Regions from separate parts of the Homo sapiens genome. Here all the other regions are linked to region 2. Evidence: promoter capture Hi-C in 16 types of primary human blood cells and fetal thymus (Javierre and others, 2016). All regions are on one chromosome and are shown on one strand. The core of a region is centred on a gene start or on the middle of the fragment in contact, and the rest is flanking DNA. Distances in the headings are between cores, read along the strand shown. Region 1 overlaps LOC105373404 (a long non-coding RNA gene). Region 2 holds the start of ALLC (allantoicase). Region 3 overlaps LOC105373404 (a long non-coding RNA gene).

What was found. The method cuts DNA at HindIII sites, captures the fragments that hold promoters and counts their contacts. A CHiCAGO score of 5 or more calls a contact.
Region 1: a fragment that was not itself captured here is called in contact with the fragment with the promoter of ALLC in region 2 in 4 of 17 cell types (M1 macrophages, M0 macrophages, M2 macrophages and 1 more); the score reaches 8.3 in M1 macrophages.
Region 3: a fragment that was not itself captured here is called in contact with the fragment with the promoter of ALLC in region 2 in 1 of 17 cell types (M2 macrophages); the score reaches 6.9 in M2 macrophages.

Annotation. Positions count from the first base shown.
Region 1 is chr2:6,770,298-6,774,328 of GRCh38, forward strand. LOC105373404 (a long non-coding RNA gene) reads right to left here. Exons shown (of 4, transcript XR_922745.3): 4 at 2,526-3,086. It overlaps LINC00487 (long intergenic non-protein coding RNA 487), which reads right to left and starts at 14. Exons shown (of 6, transcript NR_038369.1): 1 at 1-14. RefSeq lists an enhancer at 2,870-4,031. The HindIII fragment of the contact is 1,788 bases long and covers 815-2,602 here.
Region 2 is chr2:3,655,943-3,659,747 of GRCh38, forward strand. It overlaps ALLC (allantoicase), which reads left to right and starts at 2,258. Exons shown (of 12, transcript NM_018436.4): 1 at 2,258-2,352. The HindIII fragment of the contact is 6,896 bases long and covers 1-3,805 here.
Region 3 is chr2:6,787,427-6,791,126 of GRCh38, forward strand. It overlaps LOC105373404 (a long non-coding RNA gene), which reads right to left. Exons shown (of 4, transcript XR_922745.3): 3 at 3,449-3,542. Among named protein-coding and RNA genes, the nearest start is that of LINC00487, 19 kb to the left of the region's middle. The HindIII fragment of the contact is 2,525 bases long and covers 733-3,257 here.

The sequences.
Region 1 (4,031 bases), core at 459-2,958, 3.1 Mb after region 2:
AACAGCGCATCTTCTGTGACCGTGGTGAAGGAAAATCTCAGCCTCTGCTTCCCACCTCCTCAGCCCCTGCCTCAACAGGAAGCCCACAGCGCAAGAGACGCCATTCTAGGGCCAGGAAGGAAGAGCCTCAGACCCTGGAATTGCCATGTACAAACTAGACGTGTATTTATGGTGTGTCTGAATGTACAACAATTTCCTGTTTCGGAGAAAATAGTTCCTTCCTGGAAGGGCTGTTCTGTATTTGCACACTTTTCCCATGTGATTTTGGGGAAAAGTACCTGACTTTCTGTGAATAGACGCACTTTTTCTTACCGAAAATAATGATAGTTTCAATCTGGCTATAATCGTTCATATTCATGATTTTTTTCGGATGTAGAAATCAGCAGTTTTGCATTGTAAGACCTCACCCATCCACCACTCACCGTCCCCACACCCCTGGGAACAGGAGGAACCTCACAGAAGAAGAAGGTGGATTTTACTACCTACTTGCCACACCTCAATCTCTCTGTCTGTAAGCAGAGAGAATACGGTAATAATAATATTAATAATGATAATAATAATACCTTTCTCACAAGTTCGCAGGGAGGGATGAGTTCATGCACATAAAATGCTCAGCCCAGCACAGCTGAGCACACGATTCTCAGCACTATTACTTGCATTCTTGTCACTGAAAGGAAGAGGGAACGGAGTGTGACAGCGCAGGTTAGACCCCCGGCGCAGCCATCCACCTGCCACTTTGTCACAGGGACTCCACGACTAACTGCCGCCCTATTTTCCCATAAGCAGGCAATGGTGATGATAAAATCATTCTCAAAGCTTAGGGAGGCCAGGACCCAACCCAGGGCCGATCAACGCAAAGCCCTTGCTGCTTCCTATCCCATAAAACCCAATTATTTATGAATGTGAACCTAAAGCCGCATCCTAATTTAGAAGGCATGGAGATAACATGGCCAAGCAGCCGCCTCTCCAGGCAGCGAGATGACTAGGTAGGTCCCAGAGCCCTGAGCATGTCCCCTAGAAAACAACTCAAGACAAGTGCATTTGCATGCCTTCTTCTGTCTCTCTGAAATCACTCAGTTATAGTCACTCAGTGTGTGCTCACAAACACTGAGTCTCCCCTACACGTGATGCATTTCAGTACCAGGGCAATTCGAGTGAGAAACATGGCCATAGCCCCCAGCCTCTTGGACTATCAGAACTCTTAGGAAGTACAAGGATTGAAATATGTGGTCTAACAGCAGAGCGGTATTTTTCTCATTGTACCACCTTGTTGTAAAAAATTGCTGGAGCCTGAAGGAAACCACCTATGGGAAGGGTGTGAGTCAATGGTTCCCCACTTCTGCAGAGTTCCTTCTGAGCAGCTCAGAGCCCACCCCGTGTGGACACATCTCTTACCAAGATGACCTTCCCCTAGCGGGAAACGGAGGAATGAGCAGGCGGCACTCACAGTGCCAATTACAGCAAGGGGATTTGCATAGGAGACCTAACTGCCTGTTTCAATTAGGAGCAGCAACTCCCTCCTTCTTCCTTCCCAAGGAGCCAGGAACACCAGGCATGTGGGTTTGGATTTGTCTGGGAGGAGGCATGACTGTGCGCACCAGAGTGAAAGCCTCCCCACTCACACTGCTCACCTGGAGAGAGGCTCAGGGATCCTGGCAGGCGCAATGTTTGAGAAATGCCCAGGCGAAGAAGATGAATGCTTCCTTTCACCGGGCCCTCCCTGGCTTTAACTCTTCTTAGTCCTGTCTCTGGGAGACCCTGGCAGCCCCTCGCAGCTGTGACCTCTCTAAACTGTCAGCCTCAGATTAACTGATACTTCATCAATTTTGCCTGAACTGCATTTGCAACCCGGTCTCAAGAGGACAGCCAAGTGCATCAACGCTGGGCATTAACCCCCCAGAACCAGATTGCCTTCAAAACGAGGGGGACTTTTCCAATATTCTCACAGCGGCCCGGGCAACAAGCCTAGGGGGACTTTGGCCAGAGGGGAGAGAAGGGGCCTCTGATTATTCCTTGTAAATTTTTCATGAGGACATCTGCCCATACTCTGCGCCTCCTCCAGAGCTGCCCTCTCTCTCTCTCTCCCTTCCTCTGTCTCTGTGTTCAGGCCTCTGACAAGGCATGAAAAACGAGAATGATTGGGCCTCAGTCCCCATTAGCCAGGAAGTGACTGATGGGAGGATGGGCGTGTGTGGTGACTTCAGGCTTGGGAGGGGCCGGGGCTGCCGGGTTTTGAAACAAAAGACCAGTCAGGAATGGATGAGTCCTAGGTGGATCTGCAGATGGAGGCTGTGCTGTGAGTAGGTGGCTAAGGTGCACAGATGGTCATGGCTGATAGGCCAGCCTGGCCCGGGCTCCTGGTTCTGCAGACCCCAGCTCTGGGCTGGAAAATCGGTCCCCGCCTCCCCCATCTTCCCCAAGATTGTCCCCGTCCTTCCTCGGGCAGACCTTCACCGTGGAGCAGAAAGCTGCCTACAATATCGCCCAAATCAAAGCCAAGAAGAATTAGAGTGTAGGGACAGGGGAACAGGGAAGTGCTTTTTTAATTTAAATAATAAAAAATAAAAAATAGTCATTCTTTTGGAAATACTAGCAGCTTACAAGCTTTAAAATCCTCTTTCCCAACAGTTTAAATCAAAAGCCAGCAGCCCTTTCTCATGGATGCATCAAATCATGCAGATGTCCTTTTTGTGCCCCCTTTAAGGTGACATGTGCTTCAATTTATTTTTAATCTTCTAAGTGATGTCATCAGGACGCCGCCCGGGTGACACGGGAGGTGGCTGCTCCTGGGGCTGTGGGTCTGGGCAGTGCAAGCTCCACGCGCACTGACCCCATGGGCTCAACCCAGAGTCCACAGTCAGAAACCGGCCCCGGGCGGCAGGAGACGCTGCAGAGGGAGATTCCATAGAAGAGGTAAATTCATTAAGAAACTCATCACCGAGCACACCTTAGAAATCCCACCTTTTGTGCTCAACGTGGCCGGGTCCCCGGGGACGCCGTTGGCAGCTCTCCATGGAGCAACAGTGCCACCCAGTGGTCAGTCCTCGCGATGCCGCCGCCCGCTCCCCTGTGCGGTCCTCAGCGGCCTGGGAGAAGACAGAGAAAATGAGTTGGTACAAACGCTTGCCCCGAATATCACATCTTTAAATAGTTACCCACATGAAAGAAGGCCTGCAACTGATTCAAAACCACCTCGATGAAAAAAATCTGAGCACACCCATCAAAGGCACTGCGCACAGAACTCAGGAATGTTTTCTGCTGTTTGGAGTTTTCTTCTCCCCTCCTCCCTCCTCAATAACGATACTGGTGATTACATCTTCCAGGGGAAAATAAAATTAAATGCATCGACTTAATTGTTTAATTAGTGTGAGCATAGGTAGTACTATCCAATTCAAAGATCTAAGCAACTGAAATTCCATTTGGAGGGAGTTCCCCCACTACGGGAAAAGGAAGCAGGAGTGTCACAGGATTGGGGATCACACAGATGGAGGGAGAAATCTGGCCCTACATCTCCCGCGTGTGGCTGATGACGATGGGTGAATCCCCTGTGGGCATTCCTGCCTCCTCATCTGTGAAGCGGATCACCTGTGAAGTCAAATTTGCAGAGAAAGTGATTCTAATTGATGAACTCGAAAGAAATGGGAGTATTGTTACCACCCAGCTTCCTTTTGAACCCCTGCCTCTATTCCTAATGCCATTTCCACTGTACCTTTCCGCCTAAATGTCCCCTTTCTCTCTTTACAGACCTGTAAGCGCAACGCAGACCCCGCCCTCCTGCGCCAACAAGCCTCTTCTCCAAACGCTCCATGAAAGCTGATGATTCTCACTTCTAGGTTTTCTGATTGATCACGTTGTCAAGATGGATCTCTGTATTTTCCTGTATTCTTCTCCCCATAGCTCTTTCCTCATATTGTGGATGCTTTAGAAACCCTTATTAGTGAATTGGCTTGTTTTCAAATTAGAAAAACCTGAATGTTAAGGCAGAAAGGACCTGAATCTTAAGGCAAAATACTTGGATCCACGATCTGACT
Region 2 (3,805 bases), core at 1,008-3,507:
CCCGCTCCGGTGGGGGATGTGGGTAGCCTGCTGTCAGCAGAGCCAGCGAGCTCCCAGTGGAATGGGGCGGGGGGAGGAAGAGGTGGGAGGTTGTTGTGCCTGAAGAGTGGACATTTCCTCAACATCAGGTCCCCACCTAGTGAGCGGGACACCCACTTCAGCCAGGGGCTGCGCAGGGGTCGGGAGGAGCCCGTCCAGGCAGCCAGCACCTCCATCATCGCAGGCTGATCTCCTTGCCTCCTGGGAGCCCAGGGAGGCCGGGGATGGCGGCATTATTCTGAGGGTGCTCCAGCCCTTTCCATGAGAATCCTCATGTCTTGGCAGGACCAAGGCAGGAGGGTTGAAGCCCCTACGGAGCTCCGAGAACAGCCTCACGTCTGGCTCAGGCCACTGCTCTGGGACCACCTCTCTGCCAGCTCTTGTTCTCCTCCCGCCCCACAGATGGGTCCACAGGACGTCTGCTGTGCCACGATGGAAAGTTCTGTAGCTGTGCAGCCCAGCCTGTCGCCTCTGCCGCATGTGGCTGTTGGGCACTAGAAACTTACCTCATAAGACAGAGCATCCAAACTTTTAACTTCACTAAATTAAGTTGATTTTAGCGTTAGAGAAGTATTGAATTTAGCATAGCTAGTGGCTGCCACGTCGGATGGGGCAGCTAGCTGGCAGAGCCCTGTGCTCAACCTCTGGCCATGGCCCAGCAGCCCCAGCATCGCCCTGGAGCTTGGAGAAATCTCAAGCCTCAGGCCGTATCTCAAATCTGCAGCGTCAGAATCTGCACTTTAACCAGCTCGTAGGTGATTTGGAAGCACATTAGATTGTAGGAGCCAGCTCGGTGTGGAGGGCAGAGGTCAGGGTGTGGAGGGCAGGGGTCAGGGTGTGGAGGGCAGAGGTCAGGGTGTGGAGGGCAGGGGTCAGGGTGCCTTCTTCCATGGCTTTATCGGTGCCACAGCCTAGGCTTAGCGAAACCACGAGGATAAAAATAGGCCCTTCTGTTCTCCGCACCGTGAGCTTTGTGACTGATCCGAGGCGGCGAGCGGGGGCACTGCACTGCTGTGGCGGGGAAGTCACGGCTGACAAGAACTGCCAGGGACGAAGCCACGTGCATTAATTCATTAAAATACAGTCAGCTATGGAAGGCAGCATAGGATGTGGTTTCGTTCTTAAAGAATTTCATCTGGATGGGCAGACAGATGTGTAAACATGGACTCAAAGGCCGGGCGAGCTGAGATCAGACAACAGGCGCTGGACGCATCCTAACTACGGCTGGGTGGCGGGGCTGAGAGACGGGCTGGGGTTGGGGGTGGGGTTCTCAGTTGGAGGTGGCCTTGAGCCGGCCTTTCAAATGGCTTTGCTTTCCTCTGGGAAAGCTGGAGTTCAGGAGGAGAAGGCCGGTCAGGCCCTGGGGAAAGAAAACCCAGGAAGGAAAAAGGAGCGTGTGGGTGATGGATCTCCCTGGGACGCAGGTTGTCTTTCTGGAGCCCCAAGGGCCCCTGTGCGCGCCATCTGCTGTGCTGGGTTCTGGTTCCAGCTCAGTCCCTCCCTGCGCAGGTGACCTCGGGTGGCTTTCCTGCCTTCAAGGCCCCAGCTGATTCATCTGCAGAGTGGATAGCTTGCCCCGCAGGGTGGCTGTGGTGAAGCAAGGCAACGTCTGTTACTGCATGTCGAAGCCGGGCTCAGCTGTTTCTTTCTGCATGGAAAGTTCTTCTGCAGACAGTGGGGCCTTTGAAGGCAGGCGGCACGTGTTGTTTTGTATGCCACAGGCCTAGCATCCACTTGGCAAGGTGCCCTTTCTTAAGCATCTGTGGGCTTCTTTAAATTCCATGAAAATTTTGTGTGTATTTACTTTTTCTGGGGCTGAGGGGCTCTAGCCAAACCCTCCCAAGGGCCCCTGTCTTCTCTAGTAGGTCAGGACCCACTGCTGGGTGTGCTCAGTGTTTTCTGAGTTAATGATGATTAGTGAATAGGTGACGTCTAGAGATAAAACTTTAAGTCAGGTTACTGGCCGGACCAGGAAGGTGGGGGTTTCAGGCCCAGGCCAGTGGCCGGAGGCAGCTTTGTTAGGGACAGGGAAGGGCCCTGGGACCAGCAGGGACCATGTCTGGCTTCGGGCCTTGTGCGAGGGTCTTGCAGAGGCCTGCTTGGCTTCTCCGGGGAGGGGCTGCTCCCCCTGTTACTTCCACCTCTCTGCAACCCTTGTGACATCATACAGGCACAGCCAATCTCTGCAAAGTTCTGTCTCTACCTCAGGCCCCTATACATTCTCTCTGAGCTGGCACTCAAGCACCGTGGGACCTTGGCTGGCTTCTGGGGAGCAAGAGATCCATTTATGAATACTTGATTTCTGACTGCTGGGTGAGCTGGAGTGTGGTTTATAAATACCTTGCTATCTTTAAGGTGGGCTTTGCCAAAAGAATAGGGTGACAGAGATGAATTTCAGTCATGCAACGAACCCTCGACACTTGGAAGGTGACAGAGGGTAGATGGTGACAGACACCACTTTGTGCCGTTGAACTGTGTTGGTACCGGGCGTGGCCCAAACACCTGGAGGGGCCCCACAGGTGGGTCAGGCTTCTGGGCTCTGGTCACTGCTCTGTTTGGTTTCAAATCATGTGACTTTGGCCTTCTTAAAAAAAAATCTAAAGAGGCTGGGCATGGTGGCTCATGCCTGTAATCCCTGTACTTTGGGAGGCCGAGGTGGGTGGATTGCTTGAGTTGAGGAGTTTGAGACCAGCCTGAACAACATGGCAAGACCCCATTTCTACCAAAAATCAAAAAAATAGCCAGGCATGGTGGTGCGTGCCTGTGGTCCCAGCTACTTGGGAGGCTGACATGGGAGAATTGCTTGAGCCCGGGATGGGATTGGGGTGGAGGTTGCAATGAGCCAAGATCATGCCACTGTACTCCAGCCTGGATGACAGAGTGAGACCCTGTCTCAAAAAAAAAAAAAAAAAAACCTAAACAACTAAGGCCATGGTGAAGTAAACCTATATTCAAAACAAGAGTCACAAAGTAGAACTAAATGTAAATATATACCAAGAGTTGCCGGTAGTCAGGAGTCTCGTGCAGTTGACCTTGGGCTGCTCAGAGTCCCTGCTCAAGGTCACTCTAATTTTGTCCCAAATTTGAACAAACCACTTTTATTATTTCACCATAAATCTCATACTTTTGGCCAAAGGCTTCTTCGGAACTTATTGACAGCGATGACAAAGCCCCTGAAGGTTTTCTTCTTTACGAGGGAGTAACTCTTCCATCAGCACAGCCTTCCCTGCTTGTCAGAGGGAGGTCTCTCTTTCTTGTGCTTCCTAGACTTGCCTGGTCATGCCTTTTCTTATTTTAAGGCTAATCTCAAAAGAAAAAATAGTGTGAGCACCACTTGACTGCCTGAAATTTCATGACTCTATTTTAGAGAGTCATTGCCTCATCGCCTTGCCGTAACCCATGACAATGCTCCTCATTTGCGGTGATTAAGTTGAAATTTGCAGGTAAAACTTTAGCATGTTCCTCAAACATCAGAGCTGACCCTGGGTCTGGTCTCAGCCACAGCAGAAAATGTATTTAAGAGCTCCCTTGAGCAGGCAGTGGGAGGGGTTGCAGCAATGAGCTTAGAAGCAGCTGCCACAGGCTGTCTGAGCACTGTGAGCTGCTGAGCTGGTGGCCTCAGCCGAGGTCGCGTGGCTCCTTCCTTTCTTGCCTAGACCTTGGCTATTTTATCAACAGAAACGGCAGGGACCAGTGAGCAGAGAGCTCAGCAAGCTCATGGCGCAAGAGTCGTGGAGCTGTGACCTCCACCAGGGCTGAGAACGGC
Region 3 (3,700 bases), core at 745-3,244, 3.1 Mb after region 2:
CCAGAAGCTGAGGACCTCAGCACATGAGGACCACTTTCCACGCCCCTATGACTGACTCCCAGCCAATCAGCAGCACTCCTGTCTACCAAATTGGCTATAAAAACCCAACCTCTGAGCTCTTGGAAAGGCTGATTTGAATAATGGACTCCAGTTCTTCCATGTGGCTGCCCTAGCATTAAACTCTTTCTTCACTTCAGTACCATGGTCTCAGTGAACTGGTTTTGTCTGTGCAGTGGGCAGGAAGAATGCATTGAGCAATGAGAACAACTCATGCAGGGATTACTATGTGCCTTAGTATTAAGTCAGTTAATTATTGTTGGAGCTCAGAAAGTGGTACCTCAGAAATGGCGCTTTCCCATGCTGAGAGGCCTGATATGCTGCTTCAGAATCAAGGTCCTTCTAACATTGCCTTATTCACCCACGACCCTAGCAAGCACATGGAGGGATGGAGAGACTCCTGGAATGTCCTTATCTGATCAAGAAAGCTTCTTTCCAAAAGAAACACAATTGCTTTTTTCTCCTTCCTGAAATCTCATTGTCTATCTGGGAAAAGAAGACTGAGGAACGCAAAAGCACCTGCTTTCCGTGTCTCTGGCTCATTGAAATTCCAAAAAAAAGAATCATTTACAAGTTAATTTCTGTCCATTTATTCTCCATAATAATTATTTGCTGCCCCTCAGAAAAAAGCCCCCAGTCCCCATCTCCTCCTCCCCTTATGCAAAGGGGAATATAAGCTTCTGTACCCGTTGGGTTGTTGGGCAACCATTCTGTTGTGATTCTCCATGCTATGCAATGAAAATTAAGTTTTGTATGCTTTTCTCCTATGAATCTGTCTTTTTAAAGTTGATGTTCAATGAACCTTTATAGGGCAAACCGGAAGTTTCCCCTTGGCCCTACATTATCTAAACAACACTAGGAGGAATTATCATAATAAGTATTATTTAGATTCTAGTTTTAAAGATGGGGATCCTGAGCCAGGGAGGTTAAGTAACTTGCCCAAGATCACACAGCTAGCACAACTGAGCCAGGATGCGCATGGCCCAGCCTCAAACTCCAGGCTCCTAATGCCTACACAACACCACCTTGAAGGCTGCTTGGAGTTTCAAGATATTTTTGGATCCCATGTTAAGAACCATTGGTCTAGCTTATTTGACCTAAGGTGCTATACCTATAATTTATGGCGTTTTGTAAGAATTGCAGGAAATCATGTAGGTGAAAATACTTTGTAAATTATAAAATATAAATTATTACTCTTGTGGATCATCACTCTTCCCATTGTACCTGGCCCTCATGGGACTCCTTTACATCAAGTACTCCTAAGGGAAGCTGCAGGGTTCCTCCATATCCTTGGTCATGAATCATAATCCCAGACTAGTTAAGGCATGTCAGACTGACATGGTTTGGCTCTGTGTCCTCACCCAAACCTCATCTGAAATTGCAATCCCCATGTGTTGAGGAAGGGAGGTGATTGAATTATGGGAGCAGTTTCCCCCATGCTTTTCTTGTGATAGTGAATTCTCACGAGACCAGATGACTTTATAAGGCAGTTTCCCCTTCTCGCTCACACACTCTCTCTCTCACCTGCCACCACGTAAGAGGTGTCTCTTCCCCTTTTCCCATGATTGTAAGTTTCCTGAGGCCTCCCCAGCTATGCAGAACTGTGAGTAATTAAACTTCTTTTCTTTATAAATTACCCAGTCTTGGGCAGTTCTCTGTAACAGTGTGAGAATGGACTAATACATAGTCCATCCTTATTCCAACCCTCTCATCTTCTATCCTTGATCCTTTTTCTTGCATATCCGTTCCTAGCTCTCCACCAAACCTTTCATGCAGCTCTAGCTCGCATGTTGGCTCCTCTTGACACCAGCTCTGGCTCTACCACCCAACAACACTGCTCCAGCCCCCACAGATCTACATACCCAGGTTCACGTACCCTCAAAACATTCACAGTGGGGCTCCCTTTGAGACACTTGTACAGGGGACACCTAGATGACCACCACAGCTTAGCACGGTGATTCACATGAAGTCATTTAGTATTGGTTGGATACAACTGTGGCCAAAAATGAGAGCCCTTAATAATTAGAGCAAGATGTTCTGCTGGAGTATGAATGCCTAGCTCATAATTTCTACTCACTAATAAAAATCTTGACAAATATCTCATATTGAATAGAGCACTGTGTTGTTATGATTTGGAAATGTCAATCTCCATTGAATGCATTTTACACCAGGAAGATCCCTGGAGTCTTATTCTTTGTAGCAGGATGAGCGTAATGAAGCCAGCCAGACTATGTCAGGAACAGGACATCCTAATGCATCATGAAGAGTGGATGGCCTCGCTGTAGCCTCTACTTCCCCTTCAGCATTGCTCTCTAGAGGGGCTGCATTGGTAGTAGCATCCTGCAGAAAAGTCAGCTCATCTAGCTGCACACGAACCAACCCGATACTCTTGCACATTAACTCAAGCCTGTAATTCCACGTTGAATTTCTCATGGCATTAGGAAAGCACTCAGGCATCTCTCCACGGAATTACAACCCTATTATGTACAATTGAGTATACATTACTCCTTATTTTCATGTCAATAGCTTGGATAAGGCTATTACTAAAGCACTGGAGTATATAAGAGTTACATACTTAGGGGCAGAAAAAGCTGAACTGGGAAATTAAGATGCAAAATATGAGTGAGTAAAAGCTATATTTTTGTGACACATTTATATCTCAACTGGAGTAATTAGACAAATATGAAATGAGACAAATTGTCATTTTATTTATTTCCATTTTTACTATCATCTAGTCAGCTTTTAATCTGTATTCACCTGCACAAAGTATGCATTTCAGTGGTCTTATCTCTGGGAAAGGCAGGCAAACTGATGCTGCCTCCTACAATATCTAGTTTCCTTTCAAGAAAGCAGAGGGGTTATTGTTTGCCAATTAAAAATAAAAGAACAAGCCTTAGGGGCCAGACTGGGAATAAAGTGGAGTTTTTCCCCAAAATTTTAACACTTTTTTAAAAGTGACAATAATAATAACTGCCAGTTACTGAACTATTTGGGATAATATTTCAGAAAATGAAATATGGAGCAAGGCTGGCAGTTAAAATAGAGTCAATAAGGTTCAAATCCCGCTCTGTCATTAATTATATCTCTCTTAGACTCACTTCTTCATCTGTCAAATGGGGTTTGACATGGGGTTTTTAAAGAATTAAATGAGACGATCTATATGAAAAACTTAACCCACTATATGGCACATAAGCACTTAAAGCTTGTTATTTTCAATTATTACCGAATTATTAATTTAGGCAAATCATAGTCTTTTTGAACCTCTATTTTCTTACCCACAAAATGGGAATAATAATACCTATGCCACAGTATTATTATGAGGACAGCAAATGGCAATGGTGGCAGTTGCTACTGTTAAGTGGGTTGAGAAGCCGGGCAGGGTGGCTCATACCTGTAATCCCAGCACTTTGGGATGCTGAAGCAGGAGGAATGCTTGAGTCTAGAAGTTTAAGACCAGCCGGGGAAACATGATGAGACCTCCATTTCTACAAAAAAATATAGAAATTAGCCAGGTGTGGTGGTGCGTTCCTATAGTCCCAGCTACTTGGGAGGCTGAGGCACGAGAATCACTTGAGCCTGGGAGGCAGAGGCTGCAGTGACTTGAGGTCACACCACTGCACTCCAGCCTGGGTGACAGAGAGAG